3 separate regions of the Homo sapiens genome follow, and regions 1 and 3 are each linked to region 2. Evidence: promoter capture Hi-C in human tissues and cell types (Jung and others, 2019). All regions are on one chromosome and are shown on one strand. The core of a region is centred on a gene start or on the middle of the fragment in contact, and the rest is flanking DNA. Distances in the headings are between cores, read along the strand shown.

Region 1 (2,700 bases), core at 69-2,568, 460 kb after region 2:
TCAGTTTCACGCTTTGTAGGCATTTTAGGATTCAGCCATCCGTGAGATGATCCAGTTATTCCAATCAAATTCCACCTTCTCAATCCATGCAGCAATCCTCACACCAAAAACCATTCTGGGAGGCGTAAGAGCTGTGACGCGGCTCTGACAGCGACCTCCCCGTGCTGATGGTCACTTTGTCCCCACAGGTTGCCAGAACCTGATGTTTTTGCTGTTCGTGGTGTTGGATGGCTGCAAAGGGGTGACGGCGGTTCAAGCAGGCTTCTGACTTGTCCGTCGTATCCCAAAACCGGCGTTTTTTCCACACACACTGGCTGAAGCTTCCTACCTGTGGGCTTGGGAGCTTGCTAGTCACAGAATAAGGAAATCCACAGGTGTTAAAGAATCCGTCCATTCCAAAAGCGTGGATGGTTTTTTTTTAATCATCATGTTTTCTAGAAATTGCTCGGTTTTTATTTCTTTCCTCCCCTCTAACCCTCTTCTTATCCGCATTTTCCCATCTTCTCTTTTCCAGAAGACGAGAACCCTGTGGAGAGGGAGACTCCAAGTTTCCCTTCAGTTCACAGGAAGAGAGTTGCCGTGCAGGAGCCTAATTGTAAATTTGAAAAAATTAAAAACTGCTTATGCTCTGTCAATTACCAAAACGAGGAAGGACTGTATCTGTGAAATACGTATATATTTTTTGAGATGGAGCCCCGCTCTGTCGCCCAGGCTGGAGTGTAGTGGCGCGATCTCGGCTCACTGCAACCTCTGCCTCCCAGGTTCAAGTGATTCTCCTGCCTCAGCCTCCCAAGTAGCTGGGACTATAGGCACAGGCCACCACGCCCAGCTAATTTTTGTATTTTTAGTAGAGATGGGATTTCGCCATGTTGGCCAGGCTGGTCTCGAACTCCTGACCTCAAGTGATCCGCCCACCTCAGCCTCCCAAAATGCTGGGATTACAGGCATGAACTGCTGTACCCGGCCTGGTTGTTGCATTTTAATGTACTGAGCCAAGCACCAGGCTCCAGGGACACTGCTACTAGGTGGCCTGTCCTTGGCTCTGATGCAGGCGCTTCCAGGAAGAATGGGCTGCAGCTCTGTGCAGCCTGCCTGTGCTGGGCCAATGTCAGCTCCCCTTGCTCGAACAGGATTGGCCAGAACACGCCCTGTGCCTGCGAGCAGCCTTGAATGCCACTGGGGATTTGAGGTTTAGGCGTCCCGTTCCTTGAGCAGGAACCTCTGCAGAAAGGCAATTAGAAGAACAAAGTGCCCTCTCCCTGACGGTCTGTCTCCCTCACACCAAAAAGGAAGGTGAAGCTTCCTTTTTAAGGAGACCCCTTTTTAAGAACCACGGGGTAGCTGTGGTGGTTCACGTCTATAATCCCAGTGCTTTAGGAGACCACAGTGGGAGGATCACTTGAGCCCAGGAGTTTGGAACCAGCCTTGGCAACAGGGGTTGGAGGCTGCAGTGAGCTATGATCATGCCACTGCACTCCACCCTGGGCAACATAGTGAGACCCCATCTCTACAAATGATATAAAAGGCACCTGGGGGTGGTGGTGCGTGCCTGTGGTCCCAGCTATTCAGAAGCCTGAGGCAGGAGGATCGCTTGAATCCAGGAGTTCAAAGCTGCAGTGAACTGTGATTGTGCCATTGCACTCCAGCCTGGGCACCAGAGCGAGACCCTGTCTCTTAAAAAAAAAGAAGAAGAAGAAACATGTATGAGATAGAGCGCTGCAAATCTGGTTCCAACTTTCTCTGTGATTTTGCTGGAATTTGTTCAACACTGAGCTCACAGACAGCAGTGAACCAAAACTTGTTTTCTTTGGACTGCTTTGAGCAAAAATAGAAGAAAGGGGCTCATTTTTTTCCAGTGATTTTTTATTTTTCATCAATAGTGCAGATCCAAAGTAAGTATTTATTCACTGGCCTGATTTCCCAATCTTTTAACTTAGAAGTATGATTGCCAGTTTCCTAGGTTTTTAAGAATACGCTGAAAACAAGCTGCCAAGCTTAGGAGCCGAGAACCATAGAAAGTTCTGTCCATGTGCTTGGATCAGATTTCCAGCACAAACTGTGATGTGTACATCGCTTAACTCGGAGTCTGACTTTTGTTAGCTGTTGTTGGATGAACAGGTGTGTGCAGCGGATGAGTAACATGATACAAAGAGAGGTTGTACTTCCGCTGGGAGGAGAATGGGCATTTGGGTTTTTGTTGTTGTTGTTGTTTAATTTCAGCCCAACTGTTTAGAAAGAAAATTCTTGCTGTCTTTACCACTTTGTGCTGCACAGGGAGGTGGGAAGGAGGATGTTAGACGTGCGTATTAACAAATGCTCTTATGGCTACATTTTTTGGTCCATGCAAAAAAAAAAAAAAAAAAGTTCGTCTTTTTTTTATCCAGTTATCAAACTTGTGTAAAAATAAGAAAGTATATCCTTAAATAGAATTGTGCCCTGGAAGGAACCCAGATGGCTCTCTTGAGATTAAAATAGTCATCCCAGCCGGGCACGGTGGCTCATGCCTGTAATCCCAGCACTTTGGGAAGCCAAGGCAGGAGGACTGCTTGAGGCCAGGAGTTTGAGACCAGCCTGGCCAACATGGTGAAACCCCCTCTTTACTAAAAATAACAAAAATTAGCTGGGAGTGGTGGTGGGTGCCTGTAATCCCAGTGACTCGGGAGGCTGAGGCAGGACAATCACTTGAACCCAAGAGGCGGA
Region 2 (2,700 bases), core at 176-2,675:
GGCTTATGCCTCTAATCCCAGCACTTTGGGAGGCTGAGGCAGGTGGATCACTTGAGGTCAGGAGTTTGAGACCAGCCTGGCCAACATGGCAAAATCCCATCTCTACTAAAAATACAAAAATTAGGAGTAGTGGCGCACACCTGTAATCCCAGCTGCTTGGGAGGCTGAAGCAGGAGAATCGCTTGAACTCAGGAGGTGGAGGTTGCAGTGAGCTGAGATGACACCACTGCACTCCAGCCTGGGCAACAGAGTGAGACTCTGTCTCAAAACAAACAAACAAAAAGCCTTTTCAATAAACCACAAGTGACTTTGGTTCACAGTAAATACACTTCTGCCCGAACTAAGATAAAATGTAAGCATTGCTTTTCAAACCTTAGAAATGCAAGAATCAGCTGGGTGCGTTGGCTCATTCCTATAATCCCCACACTTTGGCAGGCCAAGTTGGGAGGACTGCTTGAGTCTCGTTCGAGACCAGCCTGACCATCATGGTGAAACCCCGTCTCTTACTAAAAATAAAAAATTAGTTGGGCGCGGTGGCAGGCGCCTGTAATCCCAGCTATTCGGGAGGCTGAGGCAAGAGAATTGCTTGAACCCGCGAGGCAGAGGGTGCAGTGAGCTGAGATCGCGCCACTGCACTCCAGCCTGGGTGACAGGGACTCCGTGTCAAATAAATGAATAAATACTAAAGAAAAATTAAAAGCTATTATTATTATTATTTTTAGAGGCAGGGTCTCTTTCTGTCTCCCAGGCTGGAGTGCAGTGGCACGGTCACAGATAACTGCAGCCTCGACCTCTTGGGCTCAAGGGATACTCCTGCCTCAGTCTCCCAAAGTTCGGGATTACAGACCTGAGCCACCGCGCCTGGCCGGATGCAGAGCGCCTGGCCGGATGCAGAGGCTTTTGAGTAGGCCCGGTGGACAGGGATTTGCTTTAGACCTGGGCCCCTGTTCCCCCTCTGCCTCTTACCACTGGTGTGACCTGGGGACCGACAGTTTACACTCTCCTTTAGCCGGGGGTTTCCTGTCTCTGAAATGGAGCTAATTTCTCCCCTCTCTACAGGAAGAGGTAGATAGTGCTGGAAGGCGTGCTAGGTACACCGCAAAGACTCCACAGCAAATCCTGCACACAAAATCGCGAATGCTGCAGCCGAGACCCCACGCAAGCAAGCACCGCAGGAGACGTGGGCTGACAGCTGCGCCCCACGTGACCTCCCACCCGCGCCAGTCCGTCCCCTCGGTATCAGGGCGTGGCCTCGCGGGGCGGCCGTACCTGGATTGGCCGGGAGGCGGGACCGGTGGTGCGCGCGCGAAAGGAGAGGGGCTTGGGGGCGTGGCCCAGGGGGCCGGAGACGGCTGCGATTGGCAGTGGGGCGCGCCGGGGGCGTGACCGCGGCATTGGGTCCCGGGTGGGGCCGAGGCAGCGGGAGTCGCGGTTGCTCAGCGTGCACCTGAGACCCGACGCCCGGGGTCCTCGAAGACGCGTCCGCCGCCGTGCCCGTCGCCATGAACCGCTTCAGGGTGTCCAAGTTCCGGCACACCGAGGCTCGGCCGCCCCGCCGCGAGGTGAGTCCGGCCCGAGGACCGGGCGCTGTCGCCTCGGGCCCCGTCCGGCTGCCCCTCCCCCTGCCCGGACCCCACAGGGGTGCCCTCCAGGGCCGTCTGGAACCCCGAGACCTCCATCCCCGGGGAACCCCCCTTCAGGCCAGGGCCCCGGCGTCCGGGCCGTTTCGTCGCCGCCGGAGGGCAGAGTCCGGCACTCCCGTGACTCGCTCTGGCGCTCGGTGACCCTGGCGGTCTGCCCGCCTCGCCCACCTCGCCCCGGGACCCCCGAGGCGGCGCAGCCCTCCTAGCCGGGGCCCAGGCCTGCGAGGCCGCCTGCCTTCCCAGCTTCCGGTCGGCCTCGCCGGGAGCCGGGGCTCGGGGCGCTGCCGGCGCCTGGCTCCTCCTCCCTGCCGCCCCGGGTCGCCCCTGCCCCTGGCTGGGCTGTGGGGAGACGCCCCTCTCTCCTCTGGCCCCGGCGAGCCCAAGTGTGTCAGTGGTGGGGAGGGAGCCCCTCGGCCGCACGCGCCCCTCCCTCGGGTTTCCGCCGGTGCTTCCTCCTCTCGCCGCTGGCGCAAGCTCTTTCTTTATCTCGGTGATGCTGCCACGGCTGGGTGGGGCCTGGGGAAGCCTGAGCAGGTGGAGCCCCAAAGAATTGCTGAGCCAGGTGCCGGGAGACCCTTCGGACCCCCGAAACGGCAGGAGGACTGATGAGGGGTGCGCCTTGGAAACGATGTCAGCTCTGCTCTTCCGCTTTCCGTGTTATTTGTAAGGCCTGGGAGTGTCCTCCGATAACTGGGCCTAGGAGTTGACCTCAAGTGACCCCATCAGGGTCCCAGAGCAAGTCAGGGCAGTCTGGGTAGAGGTTCCGTTTTTGTAGTGTGGACTATATTTCCTCTGCTTCCACTTTATGCTGTGCTAAGCTGCTGGAGACATCCCGGTGAACACAACGGCATTTTCCTTCCCCTGTGGCACTTGTAGCCTCATGAGGGAGACAGCAAGCAGACAAACAAGAGCATTGGAGGTTTTCATAACGACATTGAAGAACACACATGAGGGACTGGGATGGAGAATGGAGGGGGCCAGTCTCAGTAGCGTGGTCAGGAAAGGCTGCCTGGAGTAGATGGCATTTTAGCTGAGGCCAGAAGGGTGAGAATTGAGA
Region 3 (2,700 bases), core at 136-2,635, 310 kb after region 2:
TTTCCTAGAAGTGTCTGCCTAAGCCTACCTTTACTCTACAGGAAATTAAAAGTAGGTATAAGGTAAGGCTGGGCGCAGTGGCTCATGCCTGTAATCCCAGCACTTTGGGAGGCCAAGGCGGGTGGATCACCTGTGGTCATGAGTTGGAGACCAGTGTGGCCAATATAGTGAAACCCCGTCTCTACTAAAAATACAAAAATTAGCCTGGTGTGGTGGTGTGCGCCTGTAATCCCAGGTGCTCGGGAGGCTGAGGCAGAAGAATCGCTTGAACCCAGGAGGTGGAGGTTGCAGTGAGCTGTGATCATGTCCACTGCACTCCAGCCTGGGCGACAGCCTAGGCGAGACTGCGTCTCAAAAAAAAAAAAAAAAAAAAAAAAAAGTAGGTATAAGTATGATTGCAAAACTGCCCTGAGCTGCTACTTTCCGCCTTTGGGAAAGCCCAGCTCTGCAGGAGCAGTCATGGAGCCGTATAACACTGCCTGCCTCTTCAATAAAGGTGTTTTCTTTCCTGCCACCGGCTCACCCTTGAATTATTTCCTGGGCAAAGCCAAGAACCCTCTTGGGCTCGGCCCCACTTTGGGGCGCGTCTGACCTGCGTTAATAGTTCCCAACCTCCGTGAGCTCACAGTTAAAAATGTTGTGGAGTATGTTCGGGAGTGGGGAGCGCTTTAGAGGGGGCTCCTGCTGGAGCTGGGTCCTGAGATCAGGCTGTGGCTCTCCAGGTGGACAGAAGAGCACCAGGGCAGAGCGGAGAGGTGGGTATGGCTGGGCCCTGTGCTTCTCTGTGGGGGCGGACGATTGTTAGTTGTTCATCAGGACAAGGAAGGCCATGGGTAGCGTGGGAAGGAGTTTGCATTTGACCCCATAGGTGTCAGGGAACCACTCAACAGGGGGCTTAGGTGATCTGACTTGCAGTTTTAGAAAGTTCACTCTTTCAGAGCTAGTGAGTGTGGGTTGGAAAGAGATTAATGAGGTGTCGAGTAAATCCCAGGTAGGGGTGATGGTGGCCCAATCCAAAGTTACAGTAGCAGTGATGGAGGTGATGGGATCTGAGTGGCATTAGGAAGAGCAGCTTGATGGGACTGCAAGCCAGATTTAAACAAACGACTGGCAGGAGGGGAAGGGCTTGACCATGTGAATGGGAAATGGCATTTTAAGTTTCTGGAAGTGACTTGGCGACAATGTGGAGTCAGGAATGGGTGAGGGGCCTTTGAAGTTGCTATGGTATGAATGGAGAATGCAGGATGGACTTGCAGAGTACAGAGGCCCGGAACCCCTGGCTTGCTTACTCATTCAGCAAATCATTTACTCCGTGCCAGGCACGGTTCTGGGTTCTGGCAATACAGCCGTAAACAAAACAGACAACAATTCCTGCTCTTGTAATAGGGGACAAGAATTTTTAAGTCAATAATATAGGAGGATCGCTGGAGCCCACGAGGTCGAGGTTGCAGAGAGCCGTGATTGCACCACTGCATTCCAGCCTGGGCGACAGAGTGAGACCCTGTCTCTAAGAAACAAAAACCAGGCCTTCAAATAGGGGAGATCTAATAGAGGGGACAACAGGGGAGTCAAACCATAAATAAGTAAAATAGAAAAAGTGTTTTGTGAACAAACATAAAGCAGGAAGGGGATACAGCAGATGGGGTGTACGAGTGTGAGAAATCTTATCTAGGGTGGCCAGTCACTGGGAGAAGGTTGCAGGAATTTTTAGCATACTGCTAGGATTTTGGAAATAATCTAAAAAGTGAGGGGCCAGGCATGGTGGCTCATGCCTGTAATCTCAACACTTTGGGAGGCCGAGGTAGGCGGATCACCTGAGGTCAGGAGTTTGAGACCAGCCTGGCCAACGTGGTGAAACCCCATATTTACTAAAAATACAAAAATTAACCAGGTGTGGTGGCAGGTACCTGTAATCCCAGCTACTCGGGATGCTGAGGCAGGAGAATTGCTTGAACCTGGGAGACGGAGGTTGCAGTGAGCCAAGATTGCACCATTGCACTCCAGCCTGGGCGACAAGAATGAGACCCTGTCTCAAAAAAAAAAAAAAAAGTGTGAGGGACAGTTATTAAAGATATGGAGAAATGGGCCGGGCGTGGTGGCTCATGCCTGTAATCCCAGCACTTTGGGAGACCGAGGTGGGCAGATCAGGAGGTCAGGAGTTTGAGACCAGCCTGACCAACATGGTGAAACCCTGTCTCTACTGAAAATGCAAAAATTGGCTGGGTGTGGTCGCAGGCGCCTTTAGTCCCAGCCACTTGGGAAGCTGAGGCAGGAGAATCGTTCGAACCCAGGAGGTGGAGTTTGCAGTGAGCCGAGATCGTGCCATTGCACTCCAGCCTGGGCGATAGGGCGAGACTTTGTCGCCAAAAAAAAAAAAAAAAAAAAAAAAAAAAAATGAAGAAACGGTCTGATTAAGGTGAGGGACCTTCCACAGCATTTGGGATGAAACCGCTAGGCCTGAGGGAACCGTGGCTGTTGTATTCTGCCTTGGGCCACAAGCAAAAAATGGTGAGACGTGTTATCTCGAGCTGTTGGCTTTTCCTGTCATAGATACAGGGTCACAAAGACAGAAAATGAAACTGTTAGAAAATATCTACAGGCATCTTCTTTTCCCGTGTAAATATTAGGAAGACAGAATGAAGATGCTCCTCCGCTCTCATCCACACCCATGGTCATATCTCTGAAGAGGGGAATACCAGG

Evidence for each region. Contacts are between HindIII fragments. The study calls those that stand out against the background at their distance.
Region 1: a contact is called between a fragment that was not itself captured here and the fragment with the promoter of CORO7 in region 2, in 1 of the 25 tissues and cell types used here (dorsolateral prefrontal cortex).
Region 3: a contact is called between a fragment that was not itself captured here and the fragment with the promoter of CORO7 in region 2, in 4 of the 25 tissues and cell types used here (IMR-90 fibroblasts, bladder, dorsolateral prefrontal cortex and 1 more).

What each region holds. Positions count from the first base shown.
Region 1 is chr16:3,951,331-3,954,030 of GRCh38, reverse strand. It overlaps a transcript of ADCY9 not described here. Among named protein-coding and RNA genes, the nearest start is that of TRIDDENT, 2.2 kb to the right of the region's middle. The HindIII fragment of the contact is 4,154 bases long and covers 1-2,700 here.
Region 2 is chr16:4,415,321-4,418,020 of GRCh38, reverse strand. CORO7 (coronin 7) reads left to right here and starts at 1,425. Exons shown (of 28, transcript NM_024535.5): 1 at 1,425-1,562. The coding sequence starts at 1,503. It overlaps CORO7-PAM16 (CORO7-PAM16 readthrough), which reads left to right and starts at 1,425. Exons shown (of 31, transcript NM_001201479.2): 1 at 1,425-1,562. The coding sequence starts at 1,503. It overlaps LOC124903635 (a long non-coding RNA gene), which reads left to right. Exons shown (of 3, transcript XR_007064963.1): 3 at 1,060-1,296. The HindIII fragment of the contact is 38,450 bases long and covers 1-2,700 here.
Region 3 is chr16:4,108,056-4,110,755 of GRCh38, reverse strand. All of the region lies in intron 2 of ADCY9 (adenylate cyclase 9), which reads left to right. Among named protein-coding and RNA genes, the nearest start is that of ADCY9, 7.0 kb to the left of the region's middle. RefSeq lists an enhancer at 1,815-2,314. The HindIII fragment of the contact is 6,430 bases long and covers 1-2,700 here.